Linked DNA regions of Homo sapiens: regions 1, 2, 4, 5 and 6 are each linked to region 3. The links are contacts of gene promoters, found by promoter capture Hi-C in blood cells and fetal thymus (Javierre and others, 2016). All regions are on one chromosome and are shown on one strand. Each heading gives the region's core, a stretch centred on a gene start or on the middle of the fragment in contact. The rest is flanking DNA. Distances are from core to core; before and after follow the strand shown.

Region 1 (3,375 bases), core at 862-3,361, 150 kb before region 3:
ATTACTATACCACAATAATACTCAGCCACTAGAAAGGCTGGGATGACTCCATGCTTTGTTCTTCAAAAATACTTCAAATAATTCTATTTAAAAAGCAAAAGAGACCGGGTGCAGTGGCTCACACCTGTAATCCCAGAACTTTGGGAGGCCGAGGTGGGTGGATCACAAGATCAGGAGTTCGAGACTAGCCTGGTCAACATGGTGAAACCCCTGTCTCTACTAAAAATACAAAAGTTAGCCCGGCATGGTGGTGGGCACCTGTAGTCCCAGCTACTTGGGAGGCTGAGGCAGGAGAATTGCTTGAACCCAGGAGGTGGAGGTTGCAGTGAGCTGAGATCATGCCACTGCACTCCAGCCTGGGTGACAGAGCGAGACTCCATTTCAAAAAAAAAAAAAAGCAAAAGAATGAGGCATTTATGTAAAGTTATAACAAACAAAATATTTTCAGAAAAGCAATTCCACAATGTTTAATGTAATTTGAGCATCGAGCATTCTTCATAACTCTTTACAATTATTGATTCATCTTGTCTGGGTTTCATCATCATTTTACAAATGAGGAAACTGAAACACAGAGTGGCTTCATAACTCACCCACAGTCACAGTCAGTGGGGCAAGGTCAGGGTTTGACCTGGGAGCGCTAGCCACAGGGCACCTGCACCCCAGCCCCTGCTGCCCACTGTTGTGTCCCTGTGGGTGTGCTCTTCTAGGCACGTTTGGAACCCTGAGTTCTCACCAGAGAGGACAGTGAATCACTCCAAGGAGAAAGACAAGGGCTTAGAGTGGAAAAGGAGCTTTGGTTTTCACTTTATTGCTGTGCTGATGAAGTTTTAAAAGAACACCTCTCACATGTATAAAATAATGGAAAACAAGCTATGCCAAGAAGAAAAGTATGAATCAAAAATTCAATGATTACAAATAAAATAGTAAATAAGATTACAAAAGAAAATCAGATACTTTTAGTCAAACTATGTAAAAATCCCATATTTTACAAAAAGAGTAATCAAATGATGGGGGGAGAAGAGAGCTAATATTTAATGAAATTATGGTGGTCACTGTGAGACAAAGTAACAAACATGAGAAGCCGGTTTGCTCATTTCTGCTTCCCAGCATAATTTCACAAGGCCCCTGAGTCTGTGATGACCTGCGGCTCTCCAAAAACATGCTTTCTTTTGGAGAAAAAAAGGAGAGAGAAAAGGGCCCTCATGTCTCTTGCCCTCCCTGTTCCTTGCAGGTGGTGAGATTGAGAACTCAATCCAAAGTATGACATAAAGACACACCTCAGAGCTCAGAGCTTTCTTTCCCAGGATGCACCTATCCACTCTGGCAACGTTTACTTGTTCCCACCACCACCTAGTCCTGTCCACCTTCCTTCATCCTCATCCTCACTTCCTGATCTTCTCTTTAGCCCAGCTCAGGTTGAGGCCAAACTTGAATCTGACCCTCACCCCGCCCTGGGAGGGAAAATTCAGTGAGGAATAGCATTCCTTCCAGTGAGGCATACCCTGGAGTCTACATCGGCCTCCCAACCCCAAATCAGTCTCTTTTCTCCTCTCCCTCCCATTATGGCCCTGCGTCTTCCCTTTCTGGGCTGAGTTTTGTAGTATCTGTTTTCTGTGGGCTCTTGAAATTATACTAGAAGTATGATTTTTCCTTTATTAATTCTATATTTAATAACTTTTTTGTTAAATTTAGAAAGGAAGGTGAGATATCTCTAACATATCTAGAATGAAGTCTTTCTTGACATGCCTCAGAAAAACATACCTGCTTCTCCCCCACTTTGAGGTCCAGTCCATTGAGAAATGCTGGCATTGTGGGGATGGTGCATACTGAGGGGCCTGAGGGGAGATGGAGCTTGGACTGGAGGCTCAATCATTCCTGGTGTTCCTAGCACCACAGATGACTCAGCGGGACTCCCGAATAGTCAACCCTTCTTCTGAGGGCGAGGGCCAGAGTCTCAGGGATTGTCTTTTCTGAATTTTTCTTTTTGATGGTAAAAAGATCCAGGTCCGTGATTTTGCAGAATACCCTAAAGCCACATGCATTTTTGGTCTCTTCAAAGTCAACCCCCACCCCCCATGGGGGAAGGAATGATGCAAGGCTCTTTGCCCCACAGGAGAGGGTTGGGGGATTACCAGGGGGCGTGATAAATATCCTCAGCCTTGGCAAAGAGGGCTGGGAGGGTCTGTGGTAGGCTGCAGATACAGTCCTGATTATCTCTCCTTCCTCATTCACACACTTGCAAAATATGACTTTACGTCTATTAAGATTTGGTATCCATGTCCCCATTCCCTTGACTGTCTGCACCCTGTGGAATTTGTGGTCTATAGGACACTGTGGAGTGATCGATCATGTGCCAGTTTTGAGTTAAGACTTTGCTCAAGGACTCTGGTACTTCCACTTTCTCAGGAAATTAAAGCAATGTGAACACCCTCTGGCCAGCCTGTTGGAGGGTGAGAGACCACATGGAGGAGACAGAGCCCTGATGTCCCAGCTGAGGACATCCCAGAAAAGCCTATTTCCAGACAACTGAGGACAGGTGAATGAGTTCTTTGTAGATGAACCAGAATCCAGTCTATCTACCTGCTGAGCACAGACATGTGAGCAACCCCCCCATCAAGGTCAACTGAGCCTGGCCCAGATCAACAGAATCACGAGATGACCTATGGACTCAGGAGCAATCATGATGTGGTTGTTCCATGACACTGAATGTAGAGGTCGTTGATTCTGCAGCACCAGCAAACTGACACATAACACCGTGTTTAATATTGGGTTCTGGGCTTTGGGGTCCCTGCAGAGTTCCTGATTTCAGCCCCAAGGGCTCATTCACAAATTTATTACTCAGATTCTACCCTGTCAACCCAGGACGTGTTACTTACACATTTCCCAGTGTGGGCAGCAAGCCACCCAGGTGCCGAGGCAAGAGACCGAGGGCACAAGCTGTTCCAGTATAATAAAGAAAACATATAAAATAAGAATAGTTATACTAGATATAGATCGTAGATATGATTATATATGAATATTACTAATCATTAGTCTGTAGCAATTACTCTTTATTCCATTATAATAATAATCTTCTCTCTACAATTATAACTTAAGAGAAACCAGGCCATACAGAGATAGGAGCTGAACGGACACAGTGAGAAATGACCAGAAGACAAGAGTGTGAGCCTTCTATTATGCCCCGACAGGGCCACTAGAGGGCTCCTTAGTCTAGCGTTAATGCCAGTGCCCGGGAAGATGCCCGTTACCTAGCCGACTTTGGTCTAGCGGTAGCGTCAGTGCCCAGGAAAAGCACCCACTACTTAGCAGACTGGGAAAAGGAGTGTCCCTTTCCCCGGGGGAGTTAGAGAAGACTCTGCTCCACCACCTCTTGTG
Region 2 (3,347 bases), core at 407-2,906, 210 kb before region 3:
TGCTCTGTGGCCCAGGCTGGAGTGCAGTGGCATGATCTTGGCACACTGTAACCTCCCCCTCCTGGGTTCAAGCAATTCTCTTGCCTCAGCCTCTGGAGTAGCTAGGATTACAGGCGAGCGTCACCATGCCCGGCTAATTTTCATATTTTTAGTAGAGACGGGGTTTCACCATGTTGACCAGGCTGGTCTTGAACTCCTGACCTCAAGTGATCCACCTGCCTCAGCCTGCCAAAGTGCTGGGATTACAGGCGTGAGCCACCATGCCTGGCCTGAAGCACTTTATTCTTTTTGATGGTATTATAAATGAGGTAGTTTTCTTAATTTCCTTTTTGGCTTGTTCATTGTTAGTGTATAGAAATGCAAGAAATTTTTTTTTTTTTTAAGTTGAAGTCTCGCTCAATATCCCAGGCCGGAGTGCAGTGGCACCGTCTCAGCTCACTGCAGCCTCTGCCTTCCAGGTTCAAGTGATTCTTCTGCCTCAGCCTCCCGAGCATCTGGGATTACAGGTGCCCACCACCACACCCAGCTAATTTTTGTATTTTTAGTAAAGACTGGGTTTCACCATATTGGCCAGGCTGGTCTTGAACACCTGACCTCAGGTGATCTGCCCACCTCGGACTCCCAAAGTGCTGGGATTACAGGTGTGAGCCAACACACCTGGCCTAATTTTATATATGCAAATATATAAATATCTCTCTCTCATCAGTGGTAGAACATACATTTTTTTCAAGTCTATGTTAAACATTTATGCTAAATTGATCATATGATGGGTCATAAAGAAAGTCTCAGCTTCCAAAGGATGATTATTATTAAAAGTAGGTTTTTGAGCTGGGTGCTATGGCAGATGCCTATAATCCCAGATACTCAGGAGGCTGATGTGGGAGGATCACTTGAGCCTGAGAGTTCAAGTCTAACCTGGGCAACATAGTGATACCTCATCTCTAAAGAAATGTTCTCTGGGACTCCCAGCTTCCAGTCAAGCATGTAAGAGGCTTGGAACTCATCACTGCATCTTAACAGAAAGTGAATACTGAACAAAGAGAAAATTAACAATTCTTACATCCATTAGAGGAGTGGGATCACAGAGCAAACCACTGCCCTTAAGATTTCGAGAGACAGGCAGGTGGATACAGAGAATCAAAACTACTGCAACAGAAACCCATGACCAGAAACCCCTGTGGGAACCAGTACCAGGACAGGAAAACATGAAGTCTAATGAATGAATTCCTGGAGGCTCACGGCGGAGCAGTCTGAGAATTAAAAACTCCAGGGGGCCCAGTCTAAGGGGAGCCTCTGCATTTTTCTAAGAGTTTTACCTCCAGGAACCCTATCAGGTTCTCACAGTGAATATGGGAGAAAAATCTCCTTCATGGTCTGGCATGAAGTGGGAAGGGGGAAAGTAACCGCTGTGAAACACACCAGAGTATTCTGTTCTTCTTAACAAGCTCTGCCATTAAGAGAAAGCATTTTACCAGAATCTAAATTATTAGGGTTTTATCAGAGCCTAAATGACCTGGAGGAAGAGAGTATTATTTTTATACAGGACAGTAAACAAGTATTCTTTGCTCTAAAGGGAAACCTTACCTCTGTCTTCCAAGGCAGTACACTACACAAACATCCTTGAAAAGAGTGTGGAACAAAAGGACAGTCAATGCCTCACTGCCAGGCCAGCAAAAAAGCAAGAGATCCATGGGGAATTGTCTCTGACACTAACAAACCAATATTTTTGCAAAGTAAATAAACACATGAGCAAGGTGATAATAGTGTGCTGGAAAACGCTGCCCTGCTGCAGTGGTGACTGTGATAGTCCCGGGTGTCTGGGAAGACACGCCAGGATCACAGAGTGGGGCCTGGTTTTAGAAGAATGCAAATCTGGTCATGAGTTTCACTGCTTAAAATTATTGAGTGATGGCCAGTCGCGGTGGCTCACACCTGTAATCCCAGCACTTTGGGAGGCCGAAGGAGGGTGGATCACCTGAGGTTGGGAGTTCAAGACCAGCCTGATCAACATGGAGAAACTCCATCTCTACTAAAAATACAAAAAATAAAAATTAAAAAAAATTAGCTGGGTGTGGTGGTGCATGTCTGTAATCCCGGCTACTTGGGAGACTGACGCAGGAGAATTGCTTGAGCCTTGGAGGCAGAGGTTGTGATAAGCCGAGATGGCGCCATTGCACTCCAGCCTGGGCAACAAGAGCAAAACTCTGTCTCAAAAAAAAAAAAAAGAAAAGAAAAGAAAAGAAAAAACCAAAAAAATTATTGAACGACTCCCCACCACCGCTAGGATGAAACCCAGGCTCCCAGCTTGTCCCACAAGGCCCTTTGCTACCTGGGCCTGCCTTCCCCTCCAGCACCTTCTCTACCTACACCCACGGCGTCCCTTTTTCATCCAACCAAAGAGTCACTCCTTGAAACAGTGCAAACAGGCTTCCACAGCATGACTCACCTACCAGCACCTGCTCCCAGTAACTTAGTTCCCTTCAGGGTTTCTCTTTCTCCCAACCTTCCCACCCTGCTTCCAACTTCCCTCACTGATAGAGAATTAAGGACTCACTCTATGCATCCCATAGGACTCACGCTTACCTCTCTCATTGTCTTGTCTTGCCATTGGTCACTCTCCTGGGTATTTGCCCAACCCAAATTCACCCTAAATTATTAGAGATATGCATGCAAAGCATAAAACTTTCAGCACATGGTTTTTGAAAATTAAAAATAAAAATCTCCTTCCCCTCCTTTTACCTCCCCCCTCATTTGCTCGTTTGCACTCCTCAGAGACCAATGCTGTTAGCAGTTTCTGCCTTCGGTACCTTTGAAGTTTCCTATCATACTCTCATAATTCTCTCTCGTGACTTTAGGGACCCAGGTTTACCATTACTAGTTGTGGCATTTCAAAACGTACTTAACCTCTCTGAGCTACAGTTTCCTCTTTAAGCACAATGAAATGAGGACGTATAAGCATCCAGTAAAGTCAACGTGTTTGTAAATATCATGTAAACTGGGAACCCCACACATATGTTGGGTCATAAAGAAAGTCTCAGCTTGCAGAGGATGAACATTATTAAAAGTAGGTTTTTGAGCCGGTGCTATGGCACATGCTTATAATCCCAGATACTCAGGAGGCTGATGTGGGAGGATCACTTGAGCCCAAGAGTTCAAGTCTAACCTGGGCAACATAGTGAGACCTCATCTCTAAAGAAATGTTCTCTGGGACTTCCAGTTTCCAGTCAAGCATGTAAGAAACTTGGAACTCATCACTCCATCTTAACAGAAAGTGAATACTGAACAAAGAAACAATTAACACTTCTTCTTATATCCATTAGAGGAGTGGGGTCACAGGGCAAACCACT
Region 3 (3,552 bases), core at 841-3,340:
TCTAAATTTACTTATTAGTTCCCGGAGCTTTGGGGGTAGGTTTACGGTAATGGCTCTGCCCTACTGCCCCGGCGACCTCAAACATCTCCACGTGGGCCACGTTGGTGAAATTAACTGTAGCTGATGTATGTCATGGCAGAACACTCTCTGGTCTTCCCAGAACGTGAGGTCATGGGAGGCTTGTGGGAAGCTGCTACAGCATCACTTGTCACTCACTTCCCTATGGATAAGGGAGGCCGCCATGACACAGCTTCTCACTGCCTCTGGCTTCTAGGGAGGGATGAGGCTTTCTACCTCCCTATACCATGGAGCCACAGGCTGGATTCTCTACTCAGCAACAGGCATCCTATTATTCTTGTTCAGTCATCTGGCCCTTTTGTTTCAGTGTCACCCTGTATAAGGGACATGGTGCTGGCACCTGTGGCTCTTTCTTTCCCTGTCTGTGTAAGTAATAAAGTGTCTGAATCTAAAAAGAGCTTGTTTTTGTCACTAACAGAATCTGTCAGACTCACCTCTTGCTTGACAGTGGGTTCCGTGGGATTTTCTACATAGATAGTTCAATTATACAGAGATCAATTCTAGTAATCAGCTTTGGGATTTCCCTCCTTAGTCACTTGTACTCTTCATTGCAGCTTTCCCTTTCAAGTGGTCATAAATTTCTTGGTTGCTGGCTCGGAGTTATAATGCGGTATTCACACTACTTAACTTGATAAACAGGAATGTAGTTCTTATAGGTCTGTTTCCGCAGCAGCTGTTCTGTGTAGGTGAGAGAATGTGTCTTTACAGGTGGGATTTCTGTTTGGATGTGTGGGAAAGGAGAAGGCATATTGATAAGCAGACAAACAGACATATCTATGCAAATACGCAACTGCAGAAATAGGCGAGGAGAGCTAGTTTATTGCATGAAATCAATACCGAAGACTTGGACATCCAGTCAAGAAAGGAGAGGCCAGGCTGGAGTGCAAATAAGCACAACAACAACAAAATCAATGCACTTTGGGAGGCTGGGGCAGGTGGATTGCTTGAGCTCAGGATTCCAAGACCAGAACATTGTAGGACCCTAACTCTATGAAAAATACAAAAAAATTAGCCAGGCCAGGAGGTGCCTGCCTGTAGTCCCAGCTACTCAAGAGGCTGAGGTGGGAGGATGGCTTCAACTTGGGGGGCAAAGGTTACAGTGAGCAAAGATAGCACCACTGCCCTCCAGCCTGGGAGACAGAGAGATACGGTGTCTCAAAAAAAAAAAAAAAAAAAGAGAGAGAGGAGGGAGGAGGAAGAGACTCTAGAGAGTCTATACTAACAATGCACTTTTACAAAGCTCTAATACCTGTGCCTTATCCTTCTTTCACCCTCCCACCCTTCTCACTGTGACACAGGGAAGAAACCAGTGGAAAATGGAGGGGCATGCTCTAAAAATACGCCACATGTAATCCCATCACACAGTGAGACACACAGGAGCATTTTCTTGGACAAGGCACTCCACAAACCAAAAAAAAAAAAAAGGTGCTGCTTTCCTATCTGGAATCCCAGAGATCCATCCTACCACCGCCTATTTTTGTTGTTGTTGTTCTCCCTGGCACAGTTTTGCAGCCCCTGCTGTTCTTCTAGATTATGCTGCAACTTCACAAATTCTCCTACGTGACTCTGAAAAATTATAGACAGTGCAGGTCTGCAGGTGAACTGAGACGGGGAGTAGAGGGACTCCTTGAAACTTCAGGGTGGAGGAATATGGGGAGCCTAGAGACAGCCGGTGTTTGGTGAGTAATTTGATCTTAGATAAGCAAGAGTTAAGGAATATCTTCCAAGTGGTTTTCCCTTGGGCGGTGTTCAAAGAAAGACACTCAGCAGAGTCAAAGCTTAGATAGGTTCCTGGGTAGCCTTTACCCTGAGGATCTGAAGGGTCTGAGGAGGCAGCAACCACTTGGAACAGGTCCAGAAGCATCTCATTAAGCTTTTGATGAATTATTTATGTTCCCTGCAGCTCTTTTTGCCTAACTCTTCCCAAGAAACCACTCCTTCTGCACACCTCCCTAAATGGCGGTAAGTTCATATCCTATATAAGCCCCTATGTAAAGTCACTGACCCATTTCCACTGCTGCTCCCTCGTCCGCTGCTCTGAAGCCTAACCCATGGTGCCCAGAATTTCTGGTAAGGAGACCCCAGCCCTAGGCTAAGCTAATCCCTAATGATATCACATCCCTAATTATTTCTGAACTTCAAAGTTAATTCTCTCTTCCCTATTTAATTATTGGTGTCCCACCTCATAATCACTGCTATGTCATCTGTGACTGCATTGTAATCTGTCTCCTGAACTGCAAATTCCAGAAGCTTAACTTTTCCCAGAGCCCTCCCTGCCTTTCCTCACCTGCCAAGCCCAGTCCCCAGGACCTGCACCCACAGCCAGTCCCAAAATCCACTCTGAGCTGTTAACAGCAACCAGAGAAGCTCAGAGACATCATCCTGTGCCCCGTGGTCAAGACCTAGTGACCTCAGAATCATTCTCGCTCTCCTTCTGCTTCTCAGCTGCCATCTTCATTTTTGAACTTTTGGGTTCAAACTCAGAAGGAGTCACAGGTGAGAACAGATGCAGTGAGGGAGGAGAGAACAGCATTAAGGTTGGTGGGGAGGTGGTCCTAGGCTGGTCCTTGCAGCCCATCCAGCCCCGACTCTTCCAGATCTTAGACTGTGGCTATGCCAGCCAGCGCCCAGGTGCGGGGAGTGGACCTACAACCCCTTGGAGCAGTGCTGTGATGACGGTGTCATCCTAGACTTGAACCAGACCCGGCTCTGCGGCTCCAGCTGCACCTTCTGGCCCTGCTTCCAGCACTGCTGCCTGGAGTCTTTGGGCTCTCAGAACCAGACAGTTGTGAGGTTCAAGGTCCCAGGCATGAAGCCAGATTGCAAGTCCTCCCCTATCACCAGGATCTGTGCCCAGGTAAGGATCTGACTCCAGTCCAGGCTGTGGGAGGGGGGAGTAGGGAATGGAGCTTGGTTGTCCATGTCCCACCCAGATGTGCAGTCTCTGCTGGGTTCCATACCTTCCCATCTCTCAGTAACCATGCAACTCTGTCTTTCTCCATGTCTCTGTTCCTTCCCCGCCACTGCTGCTACCACCCTCCCTCTTATTCCCCTCTCCCACTTCTCTCCTTCTGCAGGAATACCACCCAAAAAGCCCTGTGTCAAGATCTGACCTCATCTAGACTGTTCTGGGGTAGCAGAGTCACAGATCACTCTAGAATCTAATACTTGGTAATTATACTGCATTGATTTTGTTGTTGTTGTGACAGAGTTTCACTCTGTCCCCCAGGCTGGAGTGCAAATAAGCAACTTCAGCAAAGTCTCAGGATACAAAATCAATGTACAAAAATCACAAGCATTCTTATACACCAACAACAGACAAACAGAGAGCCAAATCATGAGTGAACTCCCATTCACAATTGCTTCACAGAGAATAAAATACCTAGGAATCCAACTTACAAGGGATGTGAAGGACCTCTTCAAGGAGAACTACAAACCACTGCTCAAGGAAATAAAAGAGGATACAAACAAATG
Region 4 (3,305 bases), core at 347-2,846, 170 kb before region 3:
ACTACAGGCACCCGCCACCACGCTGGGCTAATTTTTTGTATTTTTAGTAGAGACGGGGTTTTGCCGTGTTAGCCAGGATGGTCTCGATGTCCTGACCTTGTGATCTGCCTGCCTCGGCCTCCCAAAGTTCTGGTATTACAGGCGTGAGCCACCGTGCCTGGCCGATTTCTTCTTTTTTTTTTTACTATTAATGTTATTTTTTATGAGAGACAGCACGCCAAGTATTGCTGTAAATATTAGGATTAATTCTACTGATGTACTTCATGATCATGTATATTTTATGAAGATTTATTAGATCAAAAATTACAAGACTTAAAGTTACCACTCTTGGATTAACTGTACATTTTTAGCACTGTTTTTATCTATTGGAATATTTTCATAGCTATAGTTAGTAAAATTCACCATAATCATTAATTAGAGCCATAATTACACTTTTATAATAAATATACATTTATACTTTAACCGATGGATAAAACATCAACCTAAATATCCAAAAGGAAATTTTTAATCAAGTGACTCCTAGGAGGGTGTCTGTTCTGACGGTGGCTATTCAGGAACAAAGAGCAAATCTGAAGAAAAGGCCTGGTTCCCACTCTGGCCACACCTGTTGCCACACTGATGGGATGTGCTGATCACAGCAAGATCACAGTCAGGATAAGTGTGGGGCCAGCAATGGCCTTTCTCAAGGCACTTTGTGCTGAGGACACGTGACAGCCTGTGTGGTGTGTGTGTGTGTGTGTGCGCGCACGCGTGTGTTTGCTTCTGTTTTTCTGTGGGTAAATACATGACCCAGTAATTTCTCAAAATAATTTTATTCTTACTACATAAGATCCACTCCATCACAGCTCTTTGTGTTCTGCTTTCTTGTTTATTGGATACCTCTTCAGGCCCTGGACGGCTCATGGAGGAGACAGGGACTCTCCCCAGGTCGAAGGCCCAAGGCCTGGATGATGGGGTGGGGCCCAGGATGGGTGCCAGGGGTCTGGAGGACATGAGTGGATGAAGGCCCTGGGCTTCAGCTTCCTCTTGGTGGAATGTGGGTGATGAGGTCCGACCATGCAGCGCTGCTGTGAGGACCGGATGAGAGGATCCCTGGGAGGTGGCCGGTGACTTGGTACCGTCACCTCAGTGACTGTTCTTCATCCTCATGGATGTTCAGAGAAGACTGGTTCATTCCCTCTGGTGGCCGTCTGTCCACCAGACAGGACCGATACATCCTCTGAAAATTTCATCACTTTAGGCAATAGCACTTTCATTCTTTTCCAGTTCATCTGATGCCATTTAAATCGACCTGGTGATTCTGGGAAGCCCGGGATTCCTGTCCCTTTGAGGAGACGCCAGGTGCCATCTGTGTGCATGCGTGGCATTTGGGCGGGAACCCAGAGCCCCGACTCTGGGCTTGTTGAACTCAGGTCCAAGGAGGGATTCACTACGTTGGTGTAAGGTGCGGTCTGTGTTTCAGATTCTTGTGCCAGATGAGGTGATGCTTTGATGTCAATACCTCGCGTTGGGGGAAGGTGGAGGATCTGGACCAGTGGTGTAGGAGGCCAGGATGGGGCGGGACCCAGACACATGAGGATTCCGGGTTTCAGAAGGACGGAGCTGAGCAAGGCCACTCGGCGCACGCGCGGTGCCTTGAGCGCCTACATCCAGATGTGCATCTTCCGTGGGGCCGTCCCGGGGCGGGGTCTGAGCTGGGAGACCTGCCTCTCTCCTGCTCTCCTAGAGTCACTTAAAACTTTTTAGTTTTCCGTTTAAATGACCAAATGAGATCATTTCATGGGGTGGTGGGGGGAGTGGAGGCAGGGAGAGTCACAAACAGAAAGCGGCCAAGACAGCTGTGGGAGAGGGAAGGGGAAGATGGGGTGAGTGGACAGCCACAGATACGACTGGCACTGACATTTAGAAGAAGATTGGGTGGAACCAGGGCTCGGTATGGCTTTGGGCAGTTCAGAAACTGAAACAGGGCTGTGGATGGGGCTGACCCGGGCGCTGTGGATGGGGAATTGCTGTGAGCAATTCACGCCTGGAGATTTGGCTGGGCATGGGAACAAGAATGAGGGAACAGGGAGTTTGGGGTGGGGAGCGAGCCCTGGTGGTGGCTGAGATGGGAGATGGGTTCGGTTGGGAATGGGGTCCTCCCCTCCTTACCCAGAACACGGCTTCGGGGAGCCATTGCTCTGGGGCGGCTGCAGCGGAGTGAGCTGGTGATCAGCCGATCTCAGCCACTCCTTGTATCCCATATTCCTAGAGGAGCTGGTGATGTCACGGCATGTCTGGCCCTCCTGCAGAGACAGGCTGGGTCGCTGGGCAGTAAAGGAGCCAGGCAGGGTATGTGTCATAGTAGATTTGATCTCAGACACTTTGAGAACCCAGGGAGAAGTGGTGCACCCTCCGCTTCTGTGTCCTACATGCCCCCTCTTTGGCAAACAGGAAGGTGCAGCATGCTCCTATAGTTACCGCCCTCCCCCACTCACACAGCCACACAGTGATTCCACAGGATCCCATTGAGCTATGACTTTCTCCACTTTCCTTGGTACATTGCTAACCCCTGACATCCTCTAATCAGGTCCTAACTTCACAACCCAAGCCCATGGCCCAGGATGCAGTAACTGCTCACTCACCTGCAGCTCATGGCATTCGGGTGGGAGAGACTGTGCGACTCAGGCACCTGACTTTCACAGGTTTGGAAGGTGGGAGTGGAGCTGGCGGGACCCCTGGGACTCACACTCCTCTGGGGGCTCTTCAACTCCTTCTCTGTTTCATTAATGGTCATTTATCCAGGAGAGGTCCACTTGGAAGCCCACATGTCCCAGGCTTTGTGTCAGACACTGGTGATGCAGTGCTGAGTAGAAAATGCAAAGTCAGTGTCTTCGTGACGTTCATGACAGTGAGAGGAGAGAGAGAGAGAGAGAGAGAGAAGGTAGGAGAATAAAACTCCTGATTTTGGTTATTGTCGTTCTTGTGTTTGGTGTCATTGTCACTGTGAAGTTCTGGTGGTGGAGAAATTCCACAGCCCTCCTGAGATTTTCAAGGACATTTTTCCTTAACGTGCTTTTTCAGAGGGTCGGGTGTGTGATTTCCCCACAGAAGAGCCATCTTGGGGTCAGGACGAAAAAACAGAGGGGAAGAAGCTGTCTTGGGTCAGTTCTGTGGGCCCCTCCCAGCTTCTGCAGGATTTCCTCAGTTTGTGAGTTCACAGGCCACACCTGGTATGGACAAGCCATTCTCCCCAGGGTTATTCCCAGCAGGGGATGTATGTGGTCAGATCTGTGTGTGTGGAAGATCCTGTATCTTTCTGGGGA
Region 5 (3,677 bases), core at 898-3,397, 230 kb before region 3:
AGAAATGAAAATGGCCTGTTCCTGCCTTAACTGATGACATTATCTTGTGAAACTCCTTCTCCTGGCTCATCCTGGCTCAAAAGCTCCCCTATTGAGCACCTTGTGACCCCCAACTCCTGCCAGCCAGAGAACAACCTCCCCCTTTGACTGTAATTTTCCTTTACATACCCAAATCTTATAAAACAGCCCCACTCCTATCTGCATTCGCTGACTCTCTTTTCAGACTCAGCCCGCCTGCACCCAGGTGAAATAAACAGCCTTGTTGCTCACACAAAGCCTGTTTGGTGGTGTCTTCACACGGATGCGAGTGAAAGTTAGTAAATAATTTTCTTTGCCAGTTGAATAAGATGGAGAGCAGACAGTGGTTTGGGATGCAGTTTGCCTGGCTTTCAGTTGTGGTGTTTTATTTTCAGCCTTTTTCTCTGTGATGTAAGTTTTTCTTTCTCTTTTTTTTTTTTTTGAGACAGAGTTTTGTTCTTGTTGCCAAAGCTGGAGTCCAATCTCCAGTGCGATCTCAGCTCACTGCAGCCTCCGCCTCCTGGGTTCAAGTGATTCTCCTGCCTCAGCCTCCCGAGTAGCTGGGACTACAGGCGCATGCCACCACGCCTGGCTAATTTTTGTATTTTTAGTAGACACGGGGTTTCACCATGTTGGCCAGGCTAGTCTTGAACTCCTGACCTCAGGCGATCCACCCACCTCGGCCTTCCAAAGTGTGGGATTACCAGCATGAGCCACCGCACCCGGCCTTGTGATGTGAATTTTAATCTTCTAGGGTTAAGGAAATTTCAGGGAAGGCAACTGTGTTACTCTTTGGCAGGTCCAGTTTCTTGATAGATGAGGGAACTTTCTTCTTCTCCCTCCCCTCCCCTCCCCTCTCCTTCTCTCTTTCTCTCTTTCTTTCTTTCCTTCTTTCTTTCTTTCTCTCTTCTTCCTCTTCCTCTTCTTTTTTTTTGAGACAGGGTCTTGCTCTGTCACCCAGGTTGGAGCTCAGTGGTGCAATCTTGGCTCTATGCAGCCTTGATCTCCCAGGCTCAAGCGATTCTCCAACCTCAGCCTCCCAAGTAGCTGAGACTACAGGTGTGTGCCACTACACCCAACTTATTTTGTTTGTTGTGGAGACAGGGTCTCGCTGTTTCCCAGGCTGGGCTGGTCCTCAACTCCCAGGCTCAAGCGATCCTCCCACCTCAGCCTCCCAAGCAGCTGGGACCACAGGCACACTTGACCACGCCTGGTTAACTTTTAACATTTTTTGTAGAGATAGGGTCTTCCTGTGTTGCCCAGGGTCGTCTCAAACCCTGGGACTCAAATGATCCTCTGGCCTTGGCCTTCCAAAGTGCTGAGATTACAGGCATGGGCCACTGCATGTGGCCTGGTTTATTTTCTTACTTTCCAGATATGTCAGTTTTGCTTGACAGAGAGAAGCTGAGGTGGGCAGAAAAATACTCAGACTATGATTCAGAGCTGAAAGAAAATCTTGGCAAACCTCAAAGGGTGCTTCACAACAAAGATTTTCCACTTGAGGAGTCCTGCGTTTGGAAGAAATGTCCAGGTCATTGGCCAGGAAGTGCACGATCTGGTCTCCCAGGCTATGACAGATCCTGAAGGCATTACAGCTAAAGTAAAGCTAACTATGCTCTGTGGCTGACCCGTGGGTGACATGGTTTGGCTCTGTCCCCTCACCCAAATCTCATCTTGAATTGTAATCTCCAGGTGAGGAGGGAGGGACCTGGTGGGAGGGGACTGGATCAAGGGGGCAGTTTCCCCCATGCTGTTCTCATGACAGTGAGTGAGTTCTGATGAGATCTGGTTGTTTCATCAGTGTCTGGGAGTTTCCCCTCCTCACTCTCTCCTGCCACCACGTAAGTAAGATGTGCCTTGCTTCCCACTTCATCTTTCGTCACGATTGTAAGTTTCCTGAGGCCTCCCAGCCATGCAGAACTGTCAGTCAATTAAAACCTCTTTCGTTTATAAATTACCCAGCCTCAGGTAGTATCTTTATAGCGTGTGAGAACAGACTCATACAGTGGGCTTCCTTTCTTTCTTTCTTTCTTTTTTTTTTTTTTTTTTGAGATGGAGTCCTGCTCTGTCCCCCAGGCTGGAGTGCAATGGTGCGATCTCAGCTCACTGCAACCTCTGCCTCCTGGGTTCAAGCGATTCTGTTGCCTCAGCCTCCCGAGTAGCTGGGACTACAGGCGCGTGACACCACACCCGGCTGATTTTTTGTATTTTTAGTAGAGAGGGGGTTTCACCATGTTGGCCAGGATGGTTTCGATCTCCTGACCTTGTGGTCTGACCACCTTGGCCTCCCAAAGTGCTGGGATAACAGGCAGGCGTGAGCCACTGCGCCCGGCCAGTGGGCTTCCTTTCTTACAGGAAGATCTGAGCAGCGTACATCCGTGGTTGCCCATCTCCGAACAGAACCAGTTTCCATTTGTTGCCAAAGCCCTGCAGAGATAAACTCCTCACACTGCCATACAGCACTTAGAAAATCTCTTTCTGTCTCTCTCCCTGAGCCATAGTTTTCTTACGAGACTGACATCTTAAGGTGATTTTGTGATTTAATTAACTAATCCATGGAAATACAGAACTTGAATAGTATTTATTCAATAAAAGAATGCTTTCATGTTATTGCTGTTGTCCTGGTGTAATACCTAACCTTGTTTTAATATGAATAGACTCTCCCTTAGCTGAGAAAACCGGACGGACTCCATTTGGCTCCTTCATTTGCAAGACATCCAGGACTCCTTACCGACCCCCTTCCTCAAGGAGTTAACTCGTGTAAGCTGACTCTCAGCATATCAGAGAGTCCAATTAACTGATAAGGTACTGTGGCAATCAATGTCCGTAGTTCCCAGGAATTCGCTCAGGAGATAGTGCCATAAAGCCCCCGTGTTTGTGTCCGGCAGAGCCCTCACGCCTATCACCTTATGATGAATTTAAAGCCCCTGCACCTGGAATACTTTGTTCTCCTGTAACCATTTGTCTTTTTAATTTTTTATCTGTTTTACTTCTGAAAGATTGTTACAGCTAGATTCCCCCCCTCCCCTCTCTAAACCAACGTATAAAAGAAAATCAAGCCCCTTCTTCGGGGCCGAGAGAATTTCGAGCGTTAGCCGTCTCTCGGTCGCCAGCTAATAAAGGATTCCTGAATTTGTCTCCAAGTGTAGCGTTTCTCTAACTCGCTTGGGTACAAAACTGGTAAATGTTTTCTTGTTGTTTTATCTTGTTGTTGTTGTTTTTGGAGACAGGATCTCTTTCTGCCACCCAGACTGCTGAGCAGTGGCGTGATCATGGCTCACTGAAACTTGGAACTCCCAGGCCCAAGCGATCCTCGCACCTCAGCCTCCCAAGTAGCTGGGACCACATGTGCATGCCATCATTCCTGGCTAATTTATTAAAAAAAAATTTTTTTTTAAAATAGAGATTGGGTCTCCCTCTGTTGCCCAGGCTGGTCCCCAACTCCTGAGCTCAAGTGATCCTCCTGTCTCATATCTAAGAGTCTTTTAATAAATCCTGACAGAAGATGGAAAGCTGAAGACTAATACTTATAAAAACAAGAAGGCCGGGCGCGTCGGCTTATGCCTGTAATCCCAGCACTTTGGGAGGCCGAGGTGGGCAGATCACTTGAGGTCAGGAGTTCGAGACCAGCCTGGGCAACATGGCGAAACCCTGTCTCT
Region 6 (3,844 bases), core at 350-2,849, 190 kb before region 3:
ACTTGCCGTAAGTGTCATATTTTTCTTCTTTAATGTCACATAAGAGCAATATTTCCTTCAGGTATCTAATCACAAGAACCACTGCAAATTCTAGATCCATGAGATCAGTCTTTCTGTGGAGAATTCATGTAGAGATCCCTGATCACACACTTGTCAAATAGAAAGTTTCCCAGAAAATCAGATACCATGTGTTATGAAAGAAAAGAAAGTATCTAGTCACTAAACACCTAGTTTAGAATAAAACGCCAAACACCCAGTTTAGAATAATTTCCCAAAAAGTGTTTTCCTAAAGTAACTGAAATTTTGAAAATTGTATGAGGAGAAAGTACATTTGATTTCTTCCTTTCTCTGACTCTTGCATCCTTCATTTTCCTTCTGCCTGTGTTAATCCCCCAGGACTGCCATAATCAAGGGCACCAGAGGGGTGGCTTGAACAGGAGAAATTCAGTTCCTCACAGTTCTGGAAGCCAGAAGTATGAGATCAAGGTGTTGGCAGGATGGTTTCTTCTGAGGGTCTATCTCTTGGCTTATCCATGGCCAACTCCTCCCTGTGTCTTCACATGGCCTCTGTGTGTGTGTCTGTGCCCTAATATCCTCTTCTTATAGGGACACCAGTCAGCTTGGATTAGGTCCTGCTCATATGACCTCATTTTACCGTAATCGCCTTTTCAAAGACCTTATCTCCAAATACAGTTATATTCAGAGATACTGGGGTTAGGACTTCAACACATGAATTTTGCGGGAGACATAGGTCATCCCATATTAATGCCCAAACAAAATTTATTACTTCACATAGTCATGCCCCAAATGAAAATTAAACAACCCAAAATTAAATAGAATTTTTAAATTTCATCATTTCTTTATTATTATTATTATTATTTTTTGAGATGGAGTCTCACTCTGTTGCCCAGGCTGGAGGACAGTGGCATGATCTCAGCTCACTACCAGCGCCACCTCCTGGGTTCATGCCATTCTCCTGCCTCAGCTCCTGAGTAGCTGGGACTACAGGCGCCCGCCACCACACCCGGCTCCTTTTTTGTATTTTTAGTAGAGACGGGGTTTCACCATGTTAGCCAGAATGGTCTTGATCTCCTGACCTCGTGATCTGCCTGCCTCAGCCTCCCAAAGTACTGGGATTACAGGCATGAGCCACCATGCCCAGCCGATTTCTTTGTTTCTTTTTTTTTTTTTTACTATTAATGTTATTTTTTATGAGAGAGAGCACGCCAAGTATTGCTATAAATATTAGGATTAATTCTATTGATGTGCTTCATGATCATGTATATTTTATGAAGATTTATTAGATCAAAAATTACAAGATTTATCTTAAAGTAATCACTCTTATATTAACTGTATATTTTAGCACTGTTTTTATCTATTGGAATATTTTCATAGCTATAGTTATTAAAATTCACCATAATCATTAATTAGAGCCATAATTACACTTTTATAATAAATATACATTTATACTTTAACCGATGGATAAAACATCAACCTAAATATCCAAAAGGAAATTTTTAATCAAGTGACTTCTAGGAGGGTGTCTGTTCTGACGGTGGCTATTCAGGAACAAAGAGCAAATCTGAAGAAAAGGCCTGGTTCCCACTCTGGCCACACCTGTTGCCACACTGATGGGATGTGCTGATCACAGCAAGATCACAGTCAGGATAAGTGTGGGGCCAGCAATGGCCTTGCTCAAGGCACTTTGTGCTTAGGACACGTGACAGCCTGTGTGGTGTGTGTGTGTGTGTGTGTGCGTGTGTGTGTGTGTGTGTTTGCTTCTGTTTTTCTGTGGGTAAATACATGACCCAGAAATTTCTCAAAATAAGTTTATTCTTACTACATAAGATCCACTCCATCACAGCTCTTTGTGTTCTGCTTTCTTGTTTATTGGATACCTCTTCAGGCCCAGGGCGGCTCATGGAGGAGACAGGGACTCTCCCCAGGTCGAAGGCCCAAGGCCTGGATGATGGGGTGGGGCCCAGGATGGGTGCCAGGGGTCTGGAGGACATGAGTGGATGAAGGCCCCGGGCTTCAGCTTCCTCTTGGTGGAATGTGGGTGATGAGGTCCGACCATGCAGCGCTGCTGTGAGGACCGGATGAGAGGATCCCTGGGAGGTGGCCGGTGACTTGGTACCGTCACCTCAGTGACTGTTCTTCGTCCTCATGGATGTTCAGAGAAGACTTGCCCACTCTCTCCACCAGATACAACCAATAAAACCTCTGAAAATTTCAGCCGAACTTTATAGCACTTTCATTCTTTTCCAATTTATTTGACGCTATTTAAATCAGACCTAGTGATTCTGGGATGCCTGAGATTCCTGTCCCTTAGAAGGGACGTCAGGTGCCTTCTGTGCGCACACGTGGCATTTGGGCGGGAACCCAGAGCCCCGACTCTGGGCTTGTTGGACTGAGATCCAAGGAGGGATTCACTACATTGGTGTAAGGTGCGGTCTGTGTTTCAGATTCTTGTGCCAGATGAGGTGATGCTTTGATGTCAATACCTCGTGTTGGGGGAAGGTTGGGGATCTGGACCAGTGGTCTAGGGGGCCTGTATGGGGCAGGACCCAGACACCTGAGGATTCCAGGTTTAAGAAGGGCGGGGCTGAGCGAGGCCTCTCGGCGCGTGTAGGTGCCTTGGGCACCTACATCCTGCTGTGCGGCTTCAGTGGGGGCGTCCAGGGCGGGGTCTGAGCTGGGAGACCCGCCTCTCTCCTGCTCTCACGGAGTCACTTAAAACTTTTTAGTTTTCCACTTAAATGACCAAATGAGATCATTTCATGGGGTGGTGGGGGGAGTGCAGGCAAGGAGAGTCACATGTGGACAGGGTGAAGGTTTAGGACGCTCACTGTGGAGGATGAGGAAGCAGCCACCCCGTGGGTGGGGTGGGTCTGTCGCTTTCTAGGCGCCAGCACAGCTCTCACGCCCTGCAGAATCCTAGCATGGGGAGGCAGAGCTCACCCAGCATTGGGTGTGCTCCCACTGATAGGCCCTGAGCTAGGGTTAGGCCTGTGAGACAGGGCATTTGCCCTGTGATGCCAGATTGCTGCCATGGTGATGTGCCGGGTCCAGAGTTCCCGCACGTGCAGACACCTGGCCACCGGGCCCGTCTGGGGCCACTGAGGCGAGGCTGCCAACTGTGGGGCGATGATGGAACCCTTTGAGTCAGAATCTGCCCAGGGAAGCCATCGGGCAGTCCGGGAGCCTGGGTTGGCCTCGGATGACTGAGGCCCAGGGACGCAGGCCCTGTGCAGACCCCCTGGCCCTGAGAAACAGGACCCAGAAAGGTGGTGGCTTCTTTGACTTTGGGGAATCCAGGTTGGTGGAGACCCTAGGGCTGAACGCTCCCTAAGGAACCTGCTTCTGGGTTGGGTAAGCAGCAGCGTGGCCCCCTCCCTGCGATCTATTCCACATCAGCACTGGCCACGAGGGTTTGTCCCTGGCACAGGGCCTGAAGAATGTGCTTCAGGTGCCTTGGCCAGCCTTTGCTTCCTCCTTCCAAACCCGAGGGCTCCTCCATAGCCCACATCCTCCACACCCCGCCCCACCCACTCCCTCTCAGGCTCCAGCTTTGGCCCAAAGTCAGACTAAGTGTGGCATCTCTGGGCGTTGGACCTGCCCAGTGGGTTTTCCACGATCCCAGGGGACGCGTGCCTGGGATGGGTGTGTGGCAGATCAGGTTTCTGTTAGCGACCAGAAGAGTCAGTTTCCACTAAACTTTATTTTTGATGAATGCATACCTTAAACATTATAGAACTGGATAAACTAGTGCCTGGGGATGAGGGCGGGAATGAGAAAACAAGCCCATTAAAACCCCAGCTGGGTTTTCTCAGACCCTAAAATC

Evidence for each region. Contacts are between HindIII fragments. The CHiCAGO score rates a contact against its expected background, and 5 or more counts as called.
Region 1: a contact is called between a fragment that was not itself captured here and the fragment with the promoter of IGFL4 in region 3, in 5 of 17 cell types (M0 macrophages, megakaryocytes, endothelial precursors and 2 more). The highest score is 8.4, in M0 macrophages.
Region 2: a fragment that was not itself captured here is called in contact with the fragment with the promoter of IGFL4 in region 3 in 9 of 17 cell types (M0 macrophages, M2 macrophages, M1 macrophages and 6 more); the score reaches 10.9 in M0 macrophages.
Region 4: a contact is called between a fragment that was not itself captured here and the fragment with the promoter of IGFL4 in region 3, in 3 of 17 cell types (M1 macrophages, M0 macrophages and M2 macrophages). The highest score is 7.3, in M1 macrophages.
Region 5: a fragment that was not itself captured here is called in contact with the fragment with the promoter of IGFL4 in region 3 in 9 of 17 cell types (M0 macrophages, M1 macrophages, megakaryocytes and 6 more); the score reaches 10.6 in M0 macrophages.
Region 6: a contact is called between a fragment that was not itself captured here and the fragment with the promoter of IGFL4 in region 3, in 6 of 17 cell types (M1 macrophages, M2 macrophages, megakaryocytes and 3 more). The highest score is 9.4, in M1 macrophages.

What each region holds. Positions count from the first base shown.
Region 1 is chr19:46,189,446-46,192,820 of GRCh38, reverse strand. It overlaps IGFL2-AS1 (IGFL2 antisense RNA 1), which reads left to right. Exons shown (of 3, transcript NR_135234.1): 3 at 2,407-3,375. It also overlaps a transcript of IGFL2 not described here. Among named protein-coding and RNA genes, the nearest start is that of IGFL2-AS1, 12 kb to the left of the region's middle. RefSeq lists an enhancer at 2,495-2,789. The HindIII fragment of the contact is 7,561 bases long and covers 1-3,375 here.
Region 2 is chr19:46,250,687-46,254,033 of GRCh38, reverse strand. No RefSeq gene overlaps it. Among named protein-coding and RNA genes, the nearest start is that of IGFL1, 23 kb to the right of the region's middle. The HindIII fragment of the contact is 4,818 bases long and covers 1-3,347 here.
Region 3 is chr19:46,039,540-46,043,091 of GRCh38, reverse strand. IGFL4 (IGF like family member 4) reads left to right here and starts at 2,090. Exons shown (of 4, transcript NM_001002923.3): 1 at 2,090-2,148; 2 at 2,524-2,574; 3 at 2,676-2,935; 4 at 3,156-3,552. The coding sequence starts at 2,130. The coding sequence ends at 3,200. The HindIII fragment of the contact is 377 bases long and covers 1,954-2,330 here.
Region 4 is chr19:46,212,330-46,215,634 of GRCh38, reverse strand. LOC93429 (a long non-coding RNA gene) reads right to left here. Exons shown (of 6, transcript NR_027003.1): 4 at 2,625-2,845; 5 at 2,152-2,306; 6 at 797-1,838. It also overlaps a transcript of IGFL2 not described here. Among named protein-coding and RNA genes, the nearest start is that of IGFL2-AS1, 11 kb to the right of the region's middle. The HindIII fragment of the contact is 6,207 bases long and covers 1-3,305 here.
Region 5 is chr19:46,269,823-46,273,499 of GRCh38, reverse strand. No RefSeq gene overlaps it. Among named protein-coding and RNA genes, the nearest start is that of HIF3A, 25 kb to the left of the region's middle. RefSeq lists an enhancer at 1,587-2,300. The HindIII fragment of the contact is 6,624 bases long and covers 1-3,677 here.
Region 6 is chr19:46,231,949-46,235,792 of GRCh38, reverse strand. No RefSeq gene overlaps it. Among named protein-coding and RNA genes, the nearest start is that of IGFL1, 4.1 kb to the right of the region's middle. The HindIII fragment of the contact is 4,669 bases long and covers 1-3,844 here.